6 separate regions of the Homo sapiens genome follow, and regions 1, 2, 3, 5 and 6 are each linked to region 4. The links are contacts of gene promoters, found by promoter capture Hi-C in human tissues and cell types (Jung and others, 2019). All regions are on one chromosome and are shown on one strand. Each heading gives the region's core, a stretch centred on a gene start or on the middle of the fragment in contact. The rest is flanking DNA. Distances are from core to core; before and after follow the strand shown. Region 1 overlaps ZSCAN30 (zinc finger and SCAN domain containing 30). Region 2 has its middle 55 kb from the start of ZNF397. Region 3 holds the start of RPRD1A (regulation of nuclear pre-mRNA domain containing 1A). Region 4 holds the start of GALNT1 (polypeptide N-acetylgalactosaminyltransferase 1). Region 5 overlaps RPRD1A (regulation of nuclear pre-mRNA domain containing 1A). Region 6 holds the start of MIR3929 (microRNA 3929).

Evidence for each region. The method cuts DNA at HindIII sites, captures the fragments that hold promoters and counts their contacts. A contact is called where the count stands out against the background at its distance.
Region 1: a fragment that was not itself captured here is called in contact with the fragment with the promoter of GALNT1 in region 4 in 2 of the 25 tissues and cell types used here (dorsolateral prefrontal cortex and lymphoblastoid cells).
Region 2: a fragment that was not itself captured here is called in contact with the fragment with the promoter of GALNT1 in region 4 in 1 of the 25 tissues and cell types used here (lymphoblastoid cells).
Region 3: the fragment with the promoter of RPRD1A here is called in contact with the fragment with the promoter of GALNT1 in region 4 in 2 of the 25 tissues and cell types used here (dorsolateral prefrontal cortex and spleen).
Region 5: a contact is called between a fragment that was not itself captured here and the fragment with the promoter of GALNT1 in region 4, in 1 of the 25 tissues and cell types used here (H1 embryonic stem cells).
Region 6: a contact is called between a fragment that was not itself captured here and the fragment with the promoter of GALNT1 in region 4, in 1 of the 25 tissues and cell types used here (lymphoblastoid cells).

What each region holds. Positions count from the first base shown.
Region 1 is chr18:35,275,339-35,279,391 of GRCh38, reverse strand. All of the region lies in intron 1 of ZSCAN30 (zinc finger and SCAN domain containing 30), which reads left to right. Among named protein-coding and RNA genes, the nearest start is that of ZSCAN30, 13 kb to the left of the region's middle. The HindIII fragment of the contact is 6,261 bases long and covers 1-4,053 here.
Region 2 is chr18:35,184,129-35,188,136 of GRCh38, reverse strand. No RefSeq gene overlaps it. Among named protein-coding and RNA genes, the nearest start is that of ZNF397, 55 kb to the left of the region's middle. The HindIII fragment of the contact is 5,625 bases long and covers 1-4,008 here.
Region 3 is chr18:36,065,114-36,069,333 of GRCh38, reverse strand. It overlaps RPRD1A (regulation of nuclear pre-mRNA domain containing 1A), which reads left to right and starts at 1,775. Exons shown (of 7, transcript NM_018170.5): 1 at 1,775-2,080. The coding sequence starts at 1,930. RefSeq lists enhancers at 1,596-1,825, 1,537-2,052, 1,936-2,075. The HindIII fragment of the contact is 14,008 bases long and covers 1-4,220 here.
Region 4 is chr18:35,580,319-35,584,724 of GRCh38, reverse strand. GALNT1 (polypeptide N-acetylgalactosaminyltransferase 1) reads right to left here and starts at 2,985. Exons shown (of 12, transcript NM_020474.4): 1 at 2,863-2,985. RefSeq lists a silencer at 3,244-3,943. The HindIII fragment of the contact is 13,517 bases long and covers 20-4,406 here.
Region 5 is chr18:36,024,902-36,028,786 of GRCh38, reverse strand. RPRD1A (regulation of nuclear pre-mRNA domain containing 1A) reads left to right here. Exons shown (of 7, transcript NM_018170.5): 5 at 1,477-1,603; 6 at 1,712-1,887. Among named protein-coding and RNA genes, the nearest start is that of RPRD1A, 41 kb to the left of the region's middle. RefSeq lists a silencer at 3,447-3,741. The HindIII fragment of the contact is 4,412 bases long and covers 1-3,885 here.
Region 6 is chr18:35,933,550-35,937,671 of GRCh38, reverse strand. MIR3929 (microRNA 3929) reads left to right here and starts at 3,530; the gene lies at 3,530-3,584. The HindIII fragment of the contact is 7,355 bases long and covers 1-4,122 here.

The DNA of each region.
Region 1 (4,053 bases), core at 464-2,963, 300 kb after region 4:
GGAGAATGCATGTGATGATGGAGGCAGAGATTGGAGTAATGCATCCAAAAGGCAAAGAATGCAAATGATTGCCAGCAACCTGAAGCTAAGACAGTGGGATGGAACAGACACTTCCCTAGAGCTTTCAGAGAGAGTATGGCCCTGCTGGCACCTTGATCTTGTACTTCTAACCTCCAGACTATGAGAGAATACATTTCTATTATGCCATCTTGTTTGTGGTACCAGAAGTGGGGTGCTATGTACAAATATCTAAAAATATAGATGTGGCTTTGGAATTGAGTAAGTGATTGAGCTGGAAGAGTTTTGAAATTCTTAATAGAAAAAGCCTTGAAGAGACTGTAGAAATAGGAGGATTAAAGGTGATTCTGGTAAGGGCTCAGAAGGAAGTAAAGAGGACAGTAGAGAAAGTTACATTTTAGGGAATACATACATTGCTATGAAGAGAATGCTGCTAGAAATAATGAACATTAAAGATACTTCTGGTGAGATCTCAGATGAAAGGAGGAACATGTATTAGAAACTAGAGAACAAGCAATCCTTGTTAGAAGTGGCAGAAACTTGGCTGAATCATGCTGTGCTATTGGGTGGAAAGTAGAACTTGTAACTAATGAACCTGAGTATTTAGCTGAGGATATTTCCAAGCAAGGAGTAGAAGGTGTAGCTTGTTTTTTCCTTCCTTCTTATGGTAAAATATGAGAGGAAAGAGATACACTGAGGAGGAAACTGTTAAGCAAAAATCATTTGATGATTTGGAAATTTCTCAGCCTATCTCAGATAGCATGCTCTGGAGACAGCACTGGGACAAACGTTTTGGTGAAGCGATTAGGTGTGTGATTTATGGATCCAATTAACTATTTCAGCAGAATCCAGGATAGAAATTGGGTTATCCAGGAAGGATCCATAGAGAATCCTTGTGCCTAATTGTATGGATTCTCTTAAAATCTATGGAAAACTGACAAGGATTTTGACAATGCTATCACCAGAAACACTGCTAATTTTGAAGAGGACAGAGACAGGATGAAAAGAAGAAAAGCTGTCCAACTTCTGGTATTACAAAAGCAGGAAACGAGGTACCCAGAGGGTGGGGACACTACCAAGGGCAGAGATGGCAGGGCCACCTCAGCTGAGGGTGGCTCAGGGACCAGTGAAGCCTCTTAGAGTCTAGAAGATAGGACCAGTTGGGTATCTATAGACCAAGAGGTTGGGGACAGTGAGGATTCCACTGACCCAGAGGGCATATTGAGTCAGCATAATTTGAGAACTCCACAAATATTTGGAAATTAAATAACATAATATAAATAACCATGATCCAAAGAAGAAATCATAAGAGAAATTAGAAAATTCTTTAAACTGAATAAAAGTGAAGTACAACATAAAATATTTTATGGGATGCTGCAAAAGTAATGGTTAGAGGAAATATTATAGCTTTAATATGTCTATTTTAGAAAAAAAATTATCTAAACCTAAGCTTCCACCTTAAGAAACTAAAAATGAGAGCAAACTTAAAAACAACAGCAACAGAACAGCAGAAGGAAGGAAGTACAGTCATCTTTTGCTTGATGCTAGGGATACATTCTGATAAATGCATCATCAGGTGCTTTTGTCTTTGTGTGAACATCATAGAGTATACATCCACAAACCTAGATGGTATAGCCTACTGTATTAGTCTGTTCTCATGCTGCCAATAAAGACATACCTGAGACTGGGTAATATATAAAGGAAAGATGTTTAATTGGCTCACAGTTCAGCATGACTGGGGAGGCTTCGGGAAACTTACAATCATGGCAGAAGGGGAAGCAAACATATCCTTCTTCACATGGTGGTAAGAAGAAGTGCCAAGCAAAAGGGGAAAAGCCCCTTATAAAACCATCAAATCTCATGAGAACTCACTGTCATAAGAACAGCATGGAGGTAGCTGTCCCCATGATTCAATTACCTCCCACTGGGTCCCTCTCATGACACATGGGGATTATGGGACCTACAATTCAAGATGAGATTTGGGTGGGGACGCAGCCAAATCATATCATTTTGCCCCTGGCCCCTCCCAAATCTCATGTCCTCACATTTCAAAACATGATCATGCCTTTCCAACAGTCCCCCAAAGTCTTAGCTCATTCCAGCATTAACCCAAAAGTCCAAATCCAAAGTCTGAGACAAGGCAAATCCCTTCTGCCTATGAGCCTGTAAAATCAAAAGTAAGTTAGTTACTTCCTGGATATGATGGGGATACAGGCACTGGGTAAATACACCTATTCCAAATGGGAGAAATTGGCCAAAACAAAGGGGGTACAGGCCCCATGCAAGTCTGAAATCCATTGGAGCAGTCAAATCTTAAAGCTCTGAAATGATCTCCTTTGACTTCATGTCTCACATCCAGGGCACACTGATGTAAGAGGTGGGCTTGCATAGCCTTGGGCAGCTCTGCCCCTGTGGCTTTGCAGGGTACAGCACCCCTCCTGGCTGCTTTCACAGGCTGGCATTGAGTGTCTGTGGCTTTTCCAGGTGCATGGTGCAAGCTTTCAGTGGATCTAACATTCTGGGGTCTGGAGGACAGAGGTCCTCTTCTCACAGCTCCACTAGGCAGTTCCCTGTTGGGGACTCTGTGTGGGGACTCCATCCCCACATTTCCCTTCCATACTGCTCTAGCAGAGATTCTCCATGAGGACTCTGCCCCTGCAGCAAACTTTTGCTTTGACAGCCAGGCATTTCATATATCCTCTGAAATCTAGGCAGAGGTTCCCAAACCTCAATTCTTAACTTCTGTGTGTCCACAGGCTCAACACCATGTGGAAGCTGCCAAGGCTTGGGGCTTGCACTCTCTAAACCCACAGCCCGAGCTTTACGTTGGCCCCTTTCAGCCATGGCTGGAGCGGCTAGGATGCAGGGCAACAAGTCCCTAGGCTGCACACAGCAGGGGAGCCCTAGGCCCCACCCACAAAACCATTTTTTCCTCCTAAGCCCCAAGCCCTGTGATGGGAGGGGCTGCTGTGAAGGTCTCTGACATGCCCTGCAGACAGAAAACTGACTAAAGAAGAAATAGAAAATGTGAATAGATGTATAATAAAGAGATTGAGTTAGTAATTTAAAAAAAAAAAAGGCACACAAAGAAAAGCCCAGGCCCCAAGGGCTTCACTGGTGAATTCTACCAAACATTTAAAGAAGAATTAATACCAGTTCTTCACAAACTCTTCCCCTCCCCAAAACAAGAAGAAGGAATATCTTCCATCTCATTTCATGAGGCTAATATTACTTTGATATCCAAATCAGTCAAATACATCACAAGAAACATAAACTACAGACCAGTATGTCTTATTCTCAACAAAATACTAGTAAACTGAATTCAGTAACATATAAAAAAGGATTTTCTACTACGACCAAGTGGAATTTATCCCAGGAATCCATCTGAGCATCAGTTTAAAAATCAACCAAATCCATATCAACAGAATAAAGGACAAAATATGCAGAAAAAGCATTTGACAAAATCCAACACCTCTTCATAAAAAACAAACGTTGAAGAGAACCAGTATGAGAAAAAAATGGGATATCTGGAAATGGAGAATGTCATTACAGACCAACTTCAATAAGTCAGTTATGAATAAAAGAAAATAAGAAATAGGGTAATAGTGGAGTTTAGGGATGGTTTATTTGCTTGGTTGGTGGCTTGATAATTTTTAAGATAGGAAAGATATGTAATGTGTAAAAGATAGCAGGAAGAATCCAGGAGAGAGAGAGTAGATAACACAGGAAGAGAATGAACTGTTGATGGCATATGATTGATGGGGAAGGAGATGGGATCCAAGATACAAGTGGAAGAATAGGTCTTTAGATATGAGTGGCCCTTCTCCTATGCTAAGATGATAGGAGAGAATGGGTGCAAGCTCAGGTAAGTTAGTGGGAAACTGAGGACATTCCAATTCATTGGGAAGAAGGAGGTTATATCATCATTTAAGAATGAGGGGTGAGGAGAATAATGCTTGAGAAAATGGCTTGAAATAAACTTCGTGCAAAGGTGAGCTTACTAGAAAAACATAAGATTGATAAGCAATACTGAGT
Region 2 (4,008 bases), core at 353-2,852, 400 kb after region 4:
AGAGGAAGAGACAGCAGAAGCTACTTTGCCATTCAATATTCTAAAGAATTTGAACACGAATATTCACAGTAGTCTTTATTTTACTGCTTAGATTCTCAAAAAAGAAAGAAAGCCAAGTCCTAGACAACTGAGACCTAGAAAGGAAAAACATGCCATTTTTTTCTGAAAGATCAAATTTCATCAGAAATTATCAATTTTATAAGTATTAATATTTAAATTGATAATTCCATCCATAATATAAAATGTAATATGATTTAGAAAGGAATAAAGTAATACAAGTAAGGTGTAAGGAAATGATTTAACAACGACTCTAATTCAAGGGACCTCACAGTGTTCAAGGCTATACATAAGGTAATACTGGAGTCCAGGTAATTTTATCCTAGAGCACGAACACCTAAGACTCTCAAATAACTTAGTGGGGAGTTTAACCTTGTGGTTGAGAGCATGATTTTTGGAATCAGACTCTATTAATTAGGGCCCCAGCAGGAATCAACAGATACATTCAAATTATTTTAATTTATGAGAGATTTAATTCAGAGACTATATACAAGGATAAAGTGAAATCACATTGGATGGTGCAGAACCTCAGAGCTAGCAACAGTATAGCTGTTACTGCCTCTGGCTTGAAGGGGTGAAGGAGTGGAGAAACTGGTTCCTGGAAGCTGAGGGAGAGAGTCTTGTAGAGAGTACCACCTTGGGAAGCACAGTGATCTTCAGTTGAGGGACATAGACAGCTTGAGGTGACTCCACAGCAGGGGACCCCAGGGAATAAGCACCTCAGCCTCTGATCTCCTGATTGGCCCCCATTGGATGAATCAACTGGAATCCAGAAGGAAGGACACTGACACCCATGGATGCAGTTTGTAGAGGTTGACCACCTGGCACTGAAGTTAGGTGGAGAGTGAATCTGGCAAATGAAGAAGTTGGCATACAGACCCAACTGAATTTGAATCACAGCTTTACTAATTCTTAGCCATGTACCTTTGGGCAAGTTAGTCATTACAAGCTTATTTCCCCATATGTAAAATGGCATTGATAATCCTATCCCAAGGGGTTGTTGTAAGGATTAAACGAGCTAATTTATAGAAAGCCTTTGGTATGATGCTTCACTCATAGCAATGATCAATACATGCTAGCCACTTCAGTGTCATCTTTGTTGTAATCAGCTCATCAAATCCTCCAGCGATCATATTTTTAACACATGCCTGCTTTGGTCTTAATCTCAGAAGGATCTATTGACTAAGACAAAGATTCCCCTGAGGGGCCGTTTTGACCTCCTGCAGAGGGGAAGTAGCATCTAGTGCTGTCGCTTTGCCTAGCATTGTGCCCAGTCAGCTAAATCTTGGAAGCCCTAATTTGATTCCTATTAGAGGTCTGACAATTGACAAAATGATATTACTCACCTTTTTTGTTTCTGATTTTTCATTTCCATGAATACGTTATACTGTTAGAGGGTGACAATGTTAATATCTACTGGATGGTAATAATTTCTGGAAAGTACATGAGACACAGAATACCACCATGGTTGGGGAAAGGACAATGACTTTTATACATTAGCTGCCAGGATTCTTGGCACTGTTTCTGAAAAACTGTGTGGCGGTCTATTTCTGGAACCTAACCATGGATAGTTCATTTTATTTTTGTTTAGAAATATGATGTTTTAAACATGACTTTGGAAAAAACATCTGTGCATCTCATCATAAGCCACAAAATGAGTAGAACATAAAATTTTGTTGAATGGGAAAGCATTAACTTCTCAACAGTGTATACAGCTTAATCCGCAATAGAAAGAAAATACATGAGAAAAATGTCTTAGAGTAACATGTCCTCATAACTGTGATTTCTTAGGTTGTGGTTATTTTTATCCTAAAAACCATCCACCAAAACATTAATTTTGGAACATGTAAGATGAACCCATGAACATTGCATTTTAGCTACTTATTATATACACTCAATTTTTCCATTATAAACAACAGGCCTTTTCTGTGTTTCTTTTAGTTTGATTCTCTCTTCTTATAATATGAAAGTGTCCCCGCTGAAATTTGGTCAATGTGGCCAGCCAAATTAGGGACTCACTTTTCTATGTTTTGAGATTCCATTTATCAGTACCTTCTTACCTGCTCATCACTGTAGGAGGAGCAGTCAGCCCAGAGATTCTCAGCTCTGGTTTGGCAACACTTTGGCCTGACTTCAGTTCCCATAAGAAATGCCAAGAACAAAGTAGTTTCACCCTGAAGAACAAACTCAGTGGCATTTTAAGAACAGAGCCTTTAACACATGATTGTAAGGCATTCTGATTACCACAAGTCCTTTCTGGAATGAAATCCAGCGTAGAGAAATAAAACTAATACACTAGAAAAAGAATATTATAATTTTTTTTTGTCTGTGGGGCATTGATTTAATTATTTCCAATAGTGTTCTGTGGAGAATGTTTTTCTGTTTCTAGAATAATTAAAAATTACCACTTAAATTTTGCCATCTTCACAATCGATTTAGGTAACGGAACAGCTATGAGATCATTGGAAACAGTGTTTACAACCTTTCCTTTATTTTTTAAAATTTAAAAATTTTTGTAGATTCAAGGGTTACATGTGCAGGTTTGTTACATGGGTATATGGTATAATGGGGAGGTGTGGGCTCCTAGTGTACCCATTACCCAAATAGTGAACACTGTACCCAATTGGTAACTTTTTTAACCCTTTCCCCCTTCCTACCCCATGCCCCACTTTGGAGTCCCCAGTGTCTATTATTTCCCTCTGTACGTCCATAAACTTTCCTTTTTTGATGATACATTTGGTGCCTCTGCCACTCAGCAGCTGTGATCAATTGGGTCACGATGGAATGGCTTTCTGCCATGAATATTCAGGGAGACTTTGCCTGTGCCATGAAGGTTTATGATGGATGGGGGGAGCAGGAAGAGCATGGGATCTTTAGGACGTCGAAGGGAATGGATCGACAGTTGGGTAAATGAATTATTTTCCAGTGTCACAATAGTGAGGTTTCTTTATATTGCCTTTGTGACATTTTCATTGCTCCTTGGATTCTTGATTCTGGAGGAGGAACAAAAGTGTTTTTTTGTTTTGTTTTCTTGCCAGATCTCCTTGAGTTAGACAGGGCCCATTGGTAGAATGGAGGCTGCACTTGAACTGGGTTCTGAAATTGGATGGGAGCCACTCTACGTGGGATTTTAAAATCAGGTTTCTGGGTCTGTTGGTTCTTCCTCCATATGGGTTGTCCCCCATTCAGAGCTTAGCAAGGATAAGATTTTGTTCTATATCCCTAAGCTTCTATGACAACAATATCCTAGGATCTCTCCACTCTCCTTCATACCCTCAAACGGTTACTACAACCGTTAGAATCTCTCTTGTAGTAAGAAAATAACCCCACTGAAATTTTGATCAATCTGGCCAGCCAAATTAAAGACTTACTTTTCTATGTTTTGGGATTCCATCCATCAGCACATTCTTATCTGTTCATCACTGTAATAGGGGCAGTCAGCCCAGAGATTCTCTGCTGCACTCAGGACCCTTGGGTTAATGTAAGTCCACATCTTCCCTGCTAGGAGGATGGCAATTGAGGAAGGAAGTATTTTAATTTTATATTAATTTTTAATTCCAGAGAGCAGTAATAATCCCATTGCCTTTATTATAATTTTTAAGGGATGTATTACCCACTTTCATTTTTCACTTTAAAGAGTAATGTCAGAATAATATAAGGAAAAATATAAAGATTAGCAATAAAACTGTGTTTGGCTATTGCAGATTTCTTTTTCTAAAAATTCAGTACACTTTTTATAACATAATTTCATATAATGTCACATTTTAAATAAAATCCTATGTCAGTCCCCTCCCCTGCCCCTGCAATGCGCGCACACACACACACATGCACAAACACACAATCATGTGCCAAAGGGGAAATCCACTTTGTCCTTAGAAATGGTGGTGGTTTGGTTAACTAAAAATTGAATCTCATCCAGTGTCAGAGCACCAATGTTGTGGAAAATCAACT
Region 3 (4,220 bases), core at 526-3,025, 490 kb before region 4:
GCTTCCTGGGACCATAGGCGCATACCACCATGCCCAGCTAATTTTTAAATTTTTAGTAAAGACAGGGACTCACTATGTTACCCAGGTTGGTGTCTAACTCCTGGGCTCAAGCAATCCTCCCACCTCGGCCTCCCAGAGTGCTGGGATTATAGACATGAGCCACACATCTGGCCGCAAAGTTCTTGAACGATGCTTGTCAAAAGATAGTTTAGGAATTCCTATGGTTTCTTATGTATCTTTCTGGAAGTTTCTTGTATTAATATTTAGGGCCAGGCATGGTGGCTTACAACTGTATTCCCAGCACTTTGGGAGGCCGACACAGAGGAGGATTGCTTGAGCCCAGAGGTCGAGACTGCAGTGAACATGACTGAACCACATACTCCAGCCTGGGCAACAGAGTAAGACCCGGTCTCAAAAAAAATTTTAGAATATGATGGTGTATGCATTAGATTAACAATGAGATTTCTGTAATTAATTTTTAACTATATAAGTAATATATTCACGTATTCTTTTTGTAAAAATGAAAACAATATGGACACAATTTAAGGGCTCCAATTCTGATCCTCTCCCTGAGACCAGTATTCATGTGGTGTGTATTCCTCCAAACCTTTGCCATGAGTTTACGTACTTGTGAACCCATATGAACTACATACCTTTAAACAAGAAGTGGTATACTATACTTTTGCTTCTGTAATTAAAAAAAAATCCAGCTGGGCATGGTGGCTCACACCTGTAATCCCAGCATTTTGGGAGGCCAAGGTGGGAGGAATGCTTGAGCCCAGGAATTCGAGGTTGCAGTAAGCTGTGATCATGGCACTGAACTCCAGTCTGGGTGAGAGTGAGGCCCTCTCTCAAAAAGAACCTCATAAAAACCCACTCAAACCCTTCCAAATCCACCATATCTTGGATTAATCCATATTTTAAACTGCTGCATGTATTATGGAATATAGACGTATCTGTGTAGACTGCAACAGTGAATGTTCCAATTTTTCACTGTTACTGTGTTGGACTGAACACCTAGAATAAGCTTCCTGGTGCAAACATGCTGGTGTTTTTTCCAGCACTGACAGCAATTAGTGAAATTGCTAGGAAAGAGTATTCTTATAATTTTTAAATTTTTATTCATTTTTCATTTTTGTGGGTACATAGTAGGTGTATATATTTATGGAGTACATAAGATATTTTGGTACAGGCATGGCAATGCCTAATAATCGCATTATGCAAAGTTGGGTATCCATCCCTTTAAGCATTTATCCTTTGTGTTACAAACAATCCAATTATCCTTTTAGTTATTTTAAAATGTACAATTAAATTATTACTGACTCTAGTCCCCTGTCATGCTATCAAATACTAGGTCCTATTTATATTTAGTCCTTCTATTAGTCCTTCTATTTAGCCCTCCCCCACTACCCTTCCCAGCCTCTGGTCACCATCCTATACTCTATTTAGGAAGGTGTATTTTTAACCGTAATTGGTCATGCAAATAGTCTTTAAAGTGCCTGCCCCAATTTATACCAGTTTACATGCCTATGTAGAGATCTGTAATCACTGCTTCTTTGACAGAGTTTCCATTAAGGAGGGTTCAGGCCTGGCAAACTCCCACCATGCCTCTGAGAGTAACCCAGGCATCACGCCCCTGTCCGCCTCCCCTGCACTTGTTTCGACTCCGCCCCTTCCGCCTGGCGGTTCCACTTCTCGGCCGCGCGTTTTCCCAGGGCTTGCAGCGGGAGGGGCGGGGCGTGGGTCCCTGTGACGTCACTGCCGGCCGGACGCCATCTTGCTGGTTTGCGGCCGGTCTTGGATGAAGCGGCGGCCGTGGTGAGAGCGTGGGGAAGGGTGGGGTGAGGGGGCGAGGCCGCAGCTAGGGCGGCGAAACTCTCCTCCCCTCGGCCCCACCGCGTGGGACGGCGTGAACGTGGTGTCGGAGGGATGTCAGCCTTCTCTGAGGCGGCGCTGGAGAAGAAGCTGTCGGAGTTGAGCAACTCGCAGCAGAGCGTGCAGACCTTGTCCCTGTGGCTCATTCACCACCGTAAACACTCGCGTCCCATCGTCACCGTGTGGGAGCGGGAGCTGCGGAAAGGTGAGTCAACCGCTTATGTCGGCCGCTTCCCACCACCCGGCCGGCCTCCAGGCGCCCCCGGGAACCCCGTTTCTCCAGCGCCCCCGGCTTCCCGGCGTCGGGATGCCAGCGCGCGGTGGTCTGCGGGCTTGGAGGAGCTGCGTGCACCACGCTTCTGCAAAGTCTGGGCTTAGATATTTATTGAATAAAGGAATGAATAATTAAAAAAGAAAACTCCGGTTAGCTTAACACGGAAACAGTAGCAGGGGGTTGGGACTCCACACCCAATTAGGGCCAGAAATTCAGGTGGTCAGGTATTTTTTTCATTCTGTGAATGATAATGGAGGATAAGGGAGGGAGAAGGTAGGGGAGTGGAAAGAAAAAGATTGGTGTGGGTTTGGGAGTTACTTCCGTCATTTCTGTAACGCAGCAACTTATTCTTGTGAAATTAATAGAGGAATAGTTTTAGAAGTCTAATATAAGAAGATGGGTAATGCAGTGGAAAAGACTCTGAATTTGTAGATTTTAGAGGGTCTCAATTGGGCAAGTTTCTTATAACTTCTGCGTTGCAGATGCCTTACCTGAAAAGGAGAGATTTAGAGTAAGTCACCTAAAGTCCTTTCCTATTCTATGATTATATGCCCTAATGCAGTGTCTTTGTTTTGCAAAACATTTGATAGTGTTCCTGTAAATGAAGTAAACTTTTTTGAGATGTCTGTCACTAAAATATTCAGAATCAGTTCATGTATGCAGAGCAACTTTGTAAAAAATTATCCTAGTGCGACTGAAAATAAAAAATTTCATTTGCTTAGTCTGAGCTTGTACTTTAATTCTTAATTCATTGGGTAGAGTGGACACTCTTCATTATTGTTGCAAACATCCTGATGGATATGATGGTTTTTTATCAAGTGTTAAAGGTTTTAACCGTTATTAATCAAAATAGACGCTTGCTTACTGAACCTTGTGAAAGCTATATGATGTATGTACGTAACAGCCAAAATGTGAGCCAAAATGTTGGCTGTATATAATGGAGACAATCTGTCCTTGTATATTGTTTGTGGTTATGAAAACGTCACCCATCCTTGAGAAGAAATTGATTTACAGCCTTGTTTTTCAGTTTATGTGTAAGTATGTGTGTATTGGCCCTGAATGAGGAATTCATCTTCTGTGAGTGGACGGAAAGGTTTCAGAAACACTGATATAAAGGTCTGGAAAGTAGCTGTGAACTTTGAAAAGTCAGGAATTAGCTTTGCTTTTACATTTTACTAGATTTCAGAATCGGTAACAGGTTTATCTTGTTTTTTGTTTTTGCAGAGAGCATTTAGAAACACATGTAATCAGTATAGGGTTGATACCCAGACTCTCTTAATAACTATTACAAATCAGTAAAAAAAAAAAATGGCAGTACTGTTTATAGGCATTTCACGTGAGGAAACCTGAAAGGTCAATAAATGATACTTAATCTTACAAATCAGGAAAAAGTAAGCCAGTGAGGTACCACTTTATGTTCATCAATTTGGCAAAATAATATGACAATATGGATAATTGTTGCAGAGAAACAGGAACTCTTATACCACTTGGTGGGAATGTAAAAATATGTAACTATTTTGTAGATCAACTTAGTTGATGAAGTTGGAGGTATATATTAAATATATCCTTTGACCTAGCAGTTTTCTTTCTAGGAATATATTCTAGAAATAAGTATTGTTCTCAAGAATTGTTTATTGCAGCTTCATAATAACAAAATTGAAAACAAGTGAGACCCTGCCTGTGCAACATAGTGAAACCTTTTCTTTACAAAAAATAAGAAAACAAAAAAACCATTCCATTAGTTTGAGAATGGACAAATAAATTGTGATATTAATAAAATGTAATACTATCGAAAAGTTCTCACGAATGGACTAGAGCTGCATGAAACAACGTGACTGAATTGAAAAACAAACAAAATCTTGAGCTAAGAAAACAAGGTACAGACGAATAATGCTATGGGGGTAAAGTCTAAAAACATGCAAAACAGTACTTCTTTTGTTTATAGATACCTATATTAAAATATGCATAGTAGTGATTAACACCATATTCCAAGATAGTGGTTGTCATAGTGTGTCCAGAATTGGTGGGTTCTTGGTCTCGCTGACTTCAAGAATGAAGCTGTGGACCCTCG
Region 4 (4,406 bases), core at 1,736-4,235:
ATGAGAATCTAATGCCTGATGATCTGAGGTGTAACGGTTTCATCCCGAAACCATTCCCCTGGCCCCCAACCTGGTCCACGGAAAAACTGTCTTCCACAAAACTGGTCCCTGGTGCCAGAGAGACTGGGACTGCTGAGTCAATAAATATTAATTGAATAAATGAACAAACAGTAAGTAGTCACTCCTAACTCTCTTCTACGAAGTTGCCGCACTCCTCTTCCTCCATTATCTGTCACTCCCTTTGCCTTGGTCCCTCTTTGCCTAACTGCCTCTTTTAACTGATCTCTCCTCTTTCCTTCCTCCTCTACCTCAGCCCAGCTCTTAACCCATCAAAAAATAAAACTTGGTATATAACTGCAATGGTATAACACTCTTCTGCATCTCAACCAATTAGGAACTGTATCCAAGAAATCTGTTACTGAAAAAAAAGTACCAAAGTTGTATGTTACATAAGCATGACAGATGTATTACATAAATAAATAAGTAAAAGCAGAAACAGCGTCAACCTGATTGTGACCTTTCATGAGAATGAGTATGGAAAGCTGTCCATCAAAGAAAGCCAGGACAGTATTCCTCAAAACTACCAAAGTTATGGAAAACCAGACAAGACAGAAACTATCACAAACCAAATATTAAAGAAACATGATGTCAAAATACAATGTAGTACACTGGACTGGATTCTGGAACAGAAAGAAGATATTAACGGAAAAACTGGTGAAATCCAAATAATGTCTGGAATTTAGCTACCTAAAAAAATACAAAATTTTTTAAAAACTATATGAAGCACTAATGTGTGATTCAGATTCAAAATTATTATTATATTAGTTAAAAGAGGGATAGGGCATGCAAGTGAGCCAGGAGCAAAACTCCAGTCAGAGTAGCTGGAGCGTCCCACTGAAAGTTACAAACAGATCTATCTTCATTTTGACTCTGGTCCCATGCTCTCTCACCTGATGTCATGAGAATTACCTTGCCTGTAACTGCTTGGGATTAACAATCAGTTTTGTTGTTGTTGGGTTTTCAGTTTTTTGAGACAGGGTCTCGCGCTGTCACTCTGGAATAGCTAGGACTACAGACGCATGCCACCACACCCAGCTAACAACCACGCTTAAGTATCCTAGCACACTCATTCGTTTATCCAACAAGCATTTATACCAAGTGCTTATTGCTTACCAGGCACTGTAAAGTCTTCAGTGATACATGGCTGGAAAAGGAAGCCACAATCTCTGCTCTCATAAAGCTTAAACTCTATTGAGAAAGCCAGGCATTTAACAAGTATTTGCATAAATGGTGAGTGCTCCCAAGAGTTTTGCAGTCTGCTGCTTAAGAGGCACCAAACAAACCAGCAGAGCAGTCATTAAACGCAGTTATCACCAGCACGCTGAACAAAGGCTTCTCAGGTTTCAAAGTGCACACAAATAACTTGAAATCCTGGTAAAGCAGATACTGATTCAGTTGATGTGCAGCGGGGCTTCACATTCTGCATTACTTGAGTCTGAGGTGACAGGGATGCTGCTGGTACACCATCCACACTTGGAATAGCAGGACTCGGAGTACCATGGAAACATCCTCAAAGGATCATGTAAAATGTCAATTCCAATAGGGCAAGGACATTGTGTCTCCCTTATTCACCATGTACCCAGAACTTAAAACTGTGCCTCATAGACAGATCGCATTCAGTAAATATTTACTGACACAACAAATGTATGTATAATTTAGACCAGGGCTGTTCAACTGTAGCAAAGAACCACATTTAGCTATGGAACACTTGAAATGTGGCTACTGTGACCGAGGAGCTGAATTTTTAAAATTTAATTTTAATAGTCACATGTGGTTAGTGGCTCCCACGCTGGACAGTCCAGGTCTGGACACAGATGTGATGTAAAGAGGACTGGACTAACAAGGTCTAGGTTTGAATCCCAACTCTGCTGCTCAGATTGTGACCTGAAAAGTTGCAACTTCTTAGGGCCTTCACTATTTCATCTGTGAAATGACAAGACCTCCTAACTCTCAGCGTTCTTGACACGATTATAAAGCAATGTATTAAACATAAGATATGATCAAAGTGACATTCTCTGCCCTCCAGAAACAGTTCAGAAAGACTACTTTGCCTATTGCCCACTTGACCAAAAAAATGCCAAGTGAGTTTGGTAGACGGGTTGGTTAGCTCAGTGGCTTTGAGAATGAGGACAAGGTCACAAATCTGGGGAGTAAGGGAACCTCATCTAGCAAGGCTGACCAGATAAGAGAAGCAATGACAATGCAAATCATCCCAATTCCTGGTAAATGCTTAAATGGGCAACGTATTGATTATGGATGAGTAAATGACATCTCATTCATTCATTCTTCCAGGAAAAGCGGAAAAGCTACTACATTACCTAAAGCCCGCTACTTCCCAACCACAAACATTTGCTAATTTAGGTCCGGGTCCTCCTCGGGGGCAGCGGGCCGGGAAGCCCCCTCCCCCGCTGCCGGCGTGTCTTCCCCTCCCCCGTGGCGCCGCGAGGGTCAGGCTGGCACCGCGGTTGCAAGTACCACACGGCCGAACCCAGAAGCCATATTTAGCTTTATTTTTGTCAATAAAACAAACTTCCGTCTTCTAAAGAAAAACGGTTCTAACTCAATGTCAAACTAGGACGGAAACTCGCTGCTCGCCAAAGCTGCCAACCAGAGACGCCGCGTGTCCAACGGCACCGGGGTCCCAGACCCGAACCCGCGCCGAGCGTGCCCGCGCCCCGGCCCCAGGCAGCGCCGGCCACAAAGGGACCGGGGACGCGGCCGCGGCGGGGCCTCTTTCTCCACCTCCGACCCGCGCGCAGCGCTGCGGCTCCGGGACTGCCCAGCCGCGGGCGATACACTCACCTCGCTAGGCGCGCGGCGGCGGCGGCGGCAGGCGTCCTCCGGGCCGGCCGCGGCGGTCGCGGCCGGTCCCGCGGCCAGCGCGCTACTCTCGGGCCGCCGTCCGCCGCGCGCTCCTCGGCCACTGCCGGCGGCTCCCCCGGCGGGCGGGCGGGTCCGGCCGGGCCCCGCTCCGCCGCGCCCGCCCCCGCCTCCGCGCCCGGCTCGGGTCGGCGGCTACTCCGGGCGCCCCGCTCGCGGGCTCGGGCGGCGCTACTCCGGGCCGCCCCGCATGCGCGCCGCCTGCCCGCTCACTTGGGGCTCGTCGCGCGGCGGGCGCCGCAGGGCGCCCGCAGGCGCTCGGGCGCGGTCCTCCCTGCGCTGCGTGCTCGGCGGCAGCGGCGGCGGCGGCCCGTGCGGCTGCGCGGGGGAGGCGGGGGCGCCGGCGCTCACCCGGATGCGCGCCCCCTCCGCTGCGGCGAGCCCACCGCGGGGCCGCGACGCTCCCCTCGGGCTCGGGACTCCGGGGTCGGGCGCGGCGCCCCTCCCGGACCGACCGCCCAGTCCCGGCCCCCGCTCACACGGCTACGGGCAGGGCCGGGCCAGGCCGAGAGGTGCCCCCGACCCTGGGTCGGGACAAAGAGGCTGCCGCAGCAAGTTAAAGACAACTCGGGCTGTTGCGCGTCGAGCAGGTCACGGGGTGGGAGGAGATGGAGGAGCCCTCACAGCGGATCGGCTCCCGGGCCGAGCGCGGGGCCGCCCCAACCCGGTCGGCTGCCTGAGGCGGCCGCGAGCGCGGGAGCTGGAGCGCTGTCAGCCGCGCTGAGCCTGCGCCTGGCGACCGCGATGCAGGAGGCCCGGGACTGAGGGAGGACGGCGAGAGCGGAGGCCCGCGACCCGCACCGCCGGGGCAGGCACCCGGGTCTCGGGGGCAGCAACGCCGGGGCCCTTGCAGAACGGGGACTGTTTGGGGAAGTGGCTCCCGCACAGTGCCCGGAGAGGGGCCCTCCCTCTGTGCCCCCTTGGGAAACACTGCTTGGTACAATTCCAATACCCAGCTGTACCCTGCCCTGAAGATAGAAGACAAAACCCTGGCTCTGTCACTCACGCGAGGCATAACCAACCATTCTTTTAATAAATTAATTTTCTACTTAAATAATTCAGAGGTTTGTGTCTTATTGCTTGCCAACCAAGAGCTGCAATAAGAGATTACTTAATATTTAAGTGGTCCCACTTTTAAATTTATATTACCTCTCACATAACCAAAAGGCTGTCCGAAAAAAAAAAAAAAAAACCTGAAGATTATCTCTGGAATTTTAGTATCCTGTTTTTGCTTGTCTACATCTTCCAAGTATTCTAAAATAAAAGTTAAAAGTTACTATTTTAAAAGTACTTATATAATATTTTGAAACAAAGTCAATCATGACTAGCCTGTTACTGTTCCACAAGGAAACTTCACTTTGGAATAAAGTTGTCATCGTTAAAAAATACTCTTATCTTGGGAGAAAAGATTGGCAAATCATATATCTGTTAAAGGACTTGTAGCCAGAATGTATGAAGAACTCTTA
Region 5 (3,885 bases), core at 723-3,222, 450 kb before region 4:
TCAGCTTTGTGGTCTTCATTTTTGTGTGTGTGTTATTCTTTATAAGAATGGCTAAAATCTCTTTGTAGGTTCCCGTTAAACTCATTTCATTCTCCTCTGGTAGGAAGTAGTAGGCTTAGTATTGTTTCAGACAACTTTGCTTTCTTATCTGATGCTTGATCAGGCATTGGGAACTTAGAATGTACTCATGTAGGACTGTGAAGGTGTGATGAGATCAGGTTGTAATTAAAGCATCAATGCATTGCCAAGACAATAAAGCCAGATTTCTTCTTAGAACTCCAGACAATTAGAATTTTCTAAGAATGATTTTAAAAATAATATATTAGTTGTGGCAAGATGAGAAACAAGCTTTCTGGTAATTGTTGTTACTCTTAAGCACACCTTAATTGTAGAGGGGATATATCTTACAACAAAATTATTTTTTAAAATACTGAAATTTTAAACACTTCTAATGAGTGAGCACACGTAGGATAGTATATTTCTTATTAGTTTCATTCATTCCTACCACATTTGATCATTTGTCATGTGCTACCCTTTTTTTCAAGGGAATAGTTTAAAAATCTTAATATATACACAGAATTACTAATATCCTATATTTTTTAAAGCATATGTGTAATTTCCTAGTGTTTCTGAATCTAGTATTAGAAATTAAGAAAGAAAGATGAAAAAGATGGGCTGGAGAATGGAAACTAGTAAAAATAAAATTTAATTGTTTTTCTTTGGAATAACTTTATAGACATTATGAGTTGTGAAATCACCAGCAAAGAGTTGCGCTTCCCTCCTAATTATAGCTTGTATGAAAACAGTGGAAGTAAAATATTTTAATGATAAAATAATTTCAGTACTGGTTAAGCAATATATATTAGTCATCAGATTATGGAATTTTGAAATATTTTAATCTTATTAACAAGCCATAGGATACTTGAAGATATCATATTTGAACATATTCTAGAACTACATTTCTCTTGGGCTTTAATTACAGCATTTAGAAATGAAATCTGGGAGACTCTTCTGTGTTGTAGTAGATGATTTGTAACCCTCTTTCCATAATATCCAATTTAATACTAAAAAAACTTCTAGTGTACAATGATAATGTAATGAATATATCATACATAAAACTTGTATTCTCTAGGTTGATGTTATAGCCTACCTTCTCTTTCACCACTGATGTATTTGCCATATAAATCCTCATTACCTCATTTTAGTACTCAAATAATTATTATTACTCTGTCTCCACCACTGGAGTAAGCTCTCTTCAAGGTCTAGGGCCTTGTCCTGTTTATATTTTCAACACCTAACATAGTATAGCCTCCTTTTTTCTTAACATATGAAAGAAATTGATTGTCTTCAAAAGCAGTTTATATTAGGAGCTTTGTACTAGTAAATAGCCCATAGGGATGAAAGAATATGAAATTAAAGTCTTTTGCACTTGTTTAAGCTCAATTTATTTTGGTTCTGAAGTTGTGTACTTTTTAGACTCTAGATCTCGTTAGAGCATTACAAGATCTGGAAAATGCAGCCTCAGGTGATGCAGCAGTTCATCAGAGGATAGCTTCTTTACCTGTTGAAGTCCAAGAAGTATCTCTATTAGATAAAATAACAGGTAAGAAAAGAAAATGTGATCCAGAACTTTTTTGGGAGTTGGGATGAGAGAACAGCATATGTCATTGTTTTTGTTGTATAATATTTTATTATCCCGTGCTTTTCTTAGATAAAGAATCTGGAGAAAGGCTTTCCAAAATGGTAGAGGATGCGTGTATGTTGCTGGCAGATTACAATGGCAGATTGGCGGCAGAAATAGATGATAGAAAGCAACTCACTCGAATGTTAGCAGATTTTCTTCGTTGTCAAAAGGAAGCCCTTGCAGAGAAAGAGCATAAATTGGAAGTGCGTAACCTTTTTCTTCTTTAGTGCTTATTTATTTAATTCTCTTTTTGTTAGGAATTTTAAAATATTTTAATCTATGTGCACATTTTGCATTTTTTAACATAGACCTTTTTAAGCAGTAGCCCAGGTAAGCTTCTCCTTGTATTAATGGTTTTTCTTCTACTTGAACCAAATTAATCTTGCAAGTAAACTTAGAAATTTGGAATTAGCAAAATTGATTGCATTTAAAAATTATTCTTGTGAAATTCCATGCAACTATAATTTATCTTACCAGTTTAACCCTAATGTATCACAGAAATAATAGGAAAATAGCAGGTGGCAGTCACTTGTAGTAGGATTTATTTAGTTTCTGTTTTGAGAAGATGTAGTCTTTTAGGTATACCATTAAGTCTTTAAATTACTCCCTTAATTCCACCCGCCAATTCTAATGCTTACATGTTCCAGCCCCACTCCCGGCTCACACTCTTAGGCAGAAATTCATTGCTCCTGTAAATTAAGTAATAATTAATACCGCTAATGAGAAATCTGGGAGTACAGGAGGTGATTTTAAAAAATGCTCGTATTTCCTTTGATTAGAGTAGCAATTGTTAGGGATACATGAGCCAGATTTGGTTTTATGTAAAAAAAATCTTTCAGTTGATGAGTTCTTGTTTAAATTGTATTGCTGTGGCAATTTCTTATTGTAATAATATGTAGGAGAATTTCTAATTTGAATCCCTTTATTTACAGAAAGCTCACTGTAAATTTGTAGGAATGTCATGGTACTACCCCATTAAGTTATTTTTATTAGTGTTTAGTTATTGATTCAGCAGTCTCTAATTGTGCCAAAAATGGTGCTTAGATTAGATTGCCATTGCTACCCATGGGAGCTGCTACTTAATTATTCCCACCTCAAATTCCCAGCTCTCAAGTTAGCACTACTCCTTTGCAATTTACTCCTTCTCTGCTCGTATAAATACCCTCAGATGATGATAGTTGGTGGCCACTATACCTTTGAAGAGGTTGCCCACTTCTACATGGAAAGGAAAAGATGGTTTTTTTTTTTAAAAGATGAATTTGATAATTAACTTGCCACTATTTCACCTTGTGATGAAACCTCAATTTTAAACATAGTGTTAATTGTTTTATTGTCCACAGAATTAAGGGTAAGTAATGTCATACAATTTTTGTCTTTAGTCTTTTAGTATGGTTTCTTTAACTTCTATTGAGCTTCTGTTGCAGATATTGGACATGGGCGTATCTTCTAACGATGTCGTCACCATTAGTATATTCTTCCTGCTAAAAATAAATATCAAACCCTGAAGCCTGTATTGTCTCATGTTTTTGAAAATTGAAGAGAAGACTGTAACTTTATTCTGCTTTATACTTTCTCACTTATGATGATGGTCATTTGTCACTGTTTACAAAAACAGAATTTATATTTGAAGTGTAACTGTAGAAAATAGATCAGATGCCACTCCCCACAACCCCCTTTTCCCCCAGTGCCTTCCAGCCACATTTCATAGTTGACAGTCATAGATTATGAGGCTGATGATAATAATAATGTTAACATTCATGTGTCAGGTACTATTCTAGGCACTTCACATAAGCAACTCATTTAATCTTACACAGCAGGATGTATTATCCACATTTGATAGATACAGAACTGAGGCACAGGAAGATTAAGTAACTTGCCTAAGGTCACAAAGAGCTAGTGAGTTGTTTGGAACGCAGAGAATCTGCCTCCAGAGCCAGTGCACTTCATCAAAAAGACACATTGCTTCCTGTTTTTACTTAAATCTAAGATTAAAGCAAATGCTAAAGTCCTATTTTTTCCAACTTTTTCTGCTCCCTCTCTTCTCAGAGGTAATCACTGTCTTGAAATAAAGCCTTCTAGGAACTTTTTTTGTTGTTCTTCTGCATAACTGGATTTTATATTATAAAGAAGAAATCACCTCAATTATGTTCAGCTGTTTTTTAACAAGTAAATACTCTTTACAAGTACAGAAATAAACTTGA
Region 6 (4,122 bases), core at 191-2,690, 350 kb before region 4:
GCTGGACTACCTGGGATCAGGTCCCTAGCTCCATCACTGATTAGCCATGAGATTTTGGGCACATAAACATTACTTTTCTTGTCAGTGTAACAGGGGTAATAATAGTGCTTACCTTATGGAGTGTTGTGATCAGTAAAGATTAGCTATGGTTATCCAACAATGCTCTCCTTGTTTAAACTGTGTGCAAATCTCCCTTTTATCTTTTAAGGTGGGCAAGACTTCTCGGTGTTTCTGTATTTCTCTTCTGTGCCAGCACATGCTCAATGAAGTACCCCTTCCCTTTCCAGTTGCATACTTTAGGGTTTTGCAGCTTAGCTGCCCTTCTGAGGACTCCCCCACATGGTTTCCCTCCTCCTTTTTCATCTCTCTGCTTCTCCACCTCCCTACCCTGTTTGTCCTCAGGGTACAGAGGGGCTGCAGAGTTCAAGCCCTCAGTGTGCCCTCCTGCTGCTGCTGACAACAACCCTGTGGGGCTGGGATCACATTGTACTTCCTTGAAAAACTCACTGCACCCCGCCCTACTTTCTTGCAAGTGCTGATGTAAACATTTCTCTGCCAGAATCTGATAACATTCTAACACTGCCAGTACATAGATTAATGTCAACACTTTTGGTGATGCTCTAAATACAGATAAGCTAAAGTGGTTCAGCTAATGTCAGCATTCAAGGGCCTAAACTTCCCAAACTGACTACAGCTGCTCTAGAGCTTACTTACTACTGCTAGGAAAAAGCGTCATACCTCCCAGCAAACATAGATATTTTTCTTTTTCAGATAGTAAGATACAGGTTGAGTTGAGTATCCCTTATCTGAAATGCTTGAAACCAGAAGTGTTGCAGATTTCAATATTTTTCAGATTTTGGAATATTTGCATTACATTTAGTTGTTCAGCATCCCTAAGTCAAAAAATCTAAAATTGGAAATGCTCCAATGAGCGTCTCTTTTGAGCATCATGTTGGTACTTAAAAAGTTTTGGATTTTAGAGCATTTCAGATTTCAGCTTTCCAGAGTAGGGATACTCAACCTGTAATAATTTTAACCTTGGCTGACAGAATGCTCGGAGCTAAATTGTATGTTCCAACCTAAGAGTTATACTTCACTGATGTTTTCTGATATATCCATCTTTTCCCCTGGATAATTAACTCTTATTTTATTATCCTAATATATAGGTATTTTGTTGTAAGCCATGTGAAATCCTTATAGAAGTAAGCAGTGCGTGAGTAGAAAATGATGCGTGAATTATTAGAGGTGTCATTGCCCCATGAAAATATACAACCTATGTTGGTTATATAGTCGTTCCTGAACACAACATCTTTCAAGGCCAGGATTTCTAAAACTCATTACATGAGTAGTTGGTAGTTTCCATTCTCTTTTGTTTAATATTTCAGAGGATATGTAGTATTTTAGTGAGGAGGTTTTGGGTGCAGGGTACTAAAAACCTAATCCAATGCACAGGTTTGAACATTAGATGGGATTCACTAAGTTTTTGCGACACAAATGCTTGGTGGGCTCCAGGTGTGGTTTGATCAGGGTTCTGGTTCTGTCTTAACTTCTCTTAGTTTCTCTTGCCCTGTGTGGGCTTTGTCTTCAGGCTGGCTTTCCTCGGCAGGGCAGGCCTGCCAGTTGTCTCTGATGAAGACATACTCTCTCTGCAGGAGTTCATCCCTGAACAAAATACCACAGCAAGGGGAGTGGGGGATGCCCTGATTGGGCTAGACTGGTCAGGCCCGGGCTGATGCTGGGATGCACGGGGGAGTCAACCCCACACAAAACCCAGGTGCTTCACAGTGGGGGTGGGGTGGGGTGGCAGACAGGAAGGGAGGTTTATTCTCACTCCATTGACAAGGCTGATGAAAAGAACCACTAGGAGAAGAGCTACTATAAAACTCTGCACATATAATTATTAGGGATGAACAATGCCAGGTTGTGCTTGATGGGCCTTCTAAGTCCTTTTGGAGCCCTCTCACTTTCTGGTAAGCCTTTAGACAAAATCTGCTTTGCGATGCCTCTAGAATGGGGCAGGTGGAAAGCTTCCTGCAATTACATTCCTTTTATATAATGTTTCTCCACCAGAGGTTTGCAGTTTTATAGGATTCACCTGCCAATTGGCAACTGATTTGAGACACGTTAGTGCATCAGCAGAAGTGGGGGACATGCCGAGGGAGCAGCCTGGTGCTTGGCGGAATGTATCCTCTAATCACTTTTCGCCAGAAAGACCCTTAAAGCAATTATACGCTTCTGCAAAGAGAACTGGAAAAGGGTTCTGGATACTTTCTCCTCTTAATTAACCAAAGAATATGCCAATTCTTTTTAGAAAGTAAACTTTTTTCCCTAGTAACTATATTGTCCCATATCTGGTTATAATTTGTGTCTGAAGTAAGTAATTAATAGAGGACTGCCAGAATTTATGAGAATAAGAAACCCCATGAGTTCACGCGTGCACACACACACACTCAGAGGACATTGATATAGTTTGGATACTTGTGCCCTACAAATCTCACGTTGGAATGGCAACCCCAATGTTGGAGGTGGGCCTAGTGGGAGGTGTTTGCATCACAGGGGTGGATCCCTCTTGAGTGGCCTGGTGCCATCCTTGCAGTAATGAGGGAGTTCTTGCTCTACCAATTCGCCCAAGATCTGGTTATTTAAAAGAGCCTGAGACTTCCTTCTCTCTCTTGCTCCCTCTCTCACTACGTGATATACTGGCTCCCCTTCACCTGCTGCCATGATTGGAAGCTTCTGAGGCCCTATGCTTCCTGTATAGGCTGCAGAAGCATGAGCCAAATAAACCCCTGTTCTTTATAAATTACCCAGTTTCAGGTATTCCTTTATTGCAAAGTAAACAGTCTAAGAAAACTGCTGTTTTCTTTACTTGTAATGTGCTTTTCACTGCCTAGCTAAAAGGAGACAATGGCCTCTGTAAAGCACCTTGTCATGGACAAGTGATGCTGGCATATCATTATAATTGTGACCTATGAAATCTTTGCCTATTCTCAGGTTTCAAATATTTTTCTCCTGACAGTTCTATATAGTATACCCTGCTTATCTGCTGGGGACATATTCCAAGACCCCCCAGTGGATACCTGAAACCATGGATACTAAAGAACTGTATATATACTGTGTTGTTTTCCTATATGTATTATTATAAAGTTTAATTTATAAATTATATTATATTATATATAATATTATATTATTATAAAGTTTAATTTATAAATTAGGCACAGGAAGAGATTACAGCAAATTATAATAAAACAGACAATTATAATGATATGCCAGCACCACTATTCTTGCACACTGGGGCCATTACGAACTAAAATAAGGGTTACTTGAACATCAGCACTGTGATGTCACGGCAGTTGATCTGATAACCCAGATGGCTACTAAATGACCCATAGGCAGGTAGCATCTACAGTGTAGATCCACGAGACAAAGGGATGATTCACATCCTAGGAGGGACGGGACAGATGGCCTGAGATTTCATCATGCTACTCAGAACAGCACACAATTTAAAACGTATGAGTTGGCCAGGTGCAGTGGCTCACACCAGTAATCCCAGCACTTTGGGAGGCTGATGTGAGTAGACCACTTGAGCCCGGGAGTTCAAGACCAGCCTGGGCAACATGGCGAACTCCTATCTTTACAAAAAATACAAAAATTAACCAGGCGTGGTGGTGCATGTCTATAGTCCCAGATACTCAGGGGGCTGAGGTTGGAGGATTGCTTGAGCCTGAGAGACCAAGGCTGCAGTGAGCCAAGACTGCGCCATTGCACTCCAGCCTGGGTGACAGAGTGAGATTCTGTCTCAAAAAAATTTTTTTAAAAAGGGATGAATTATTTATTTCTAAAATTTCTCTTTTAGTTTTTTGGATGTGAGTGGATGATGAGCCACATGTCCCTTTGGTTGGCTGAGGGTAACTGAAACCATGGAAAGCAAAACTGTGGTTAAAGGGGGACTACTATAATTTTAGCTGTATTATGTTTAGGTCTATCATCCATATTGAATTAATTTTGTGCATGAGTTGAGATAGGAATTGAGATTCATTTTCTTCCCCATATGGATATCTATTTTTCCAGCATCATTTCTAGAAAAGCGCTTACTTTTCCCATTGGAGCTTCGGTGGCTTT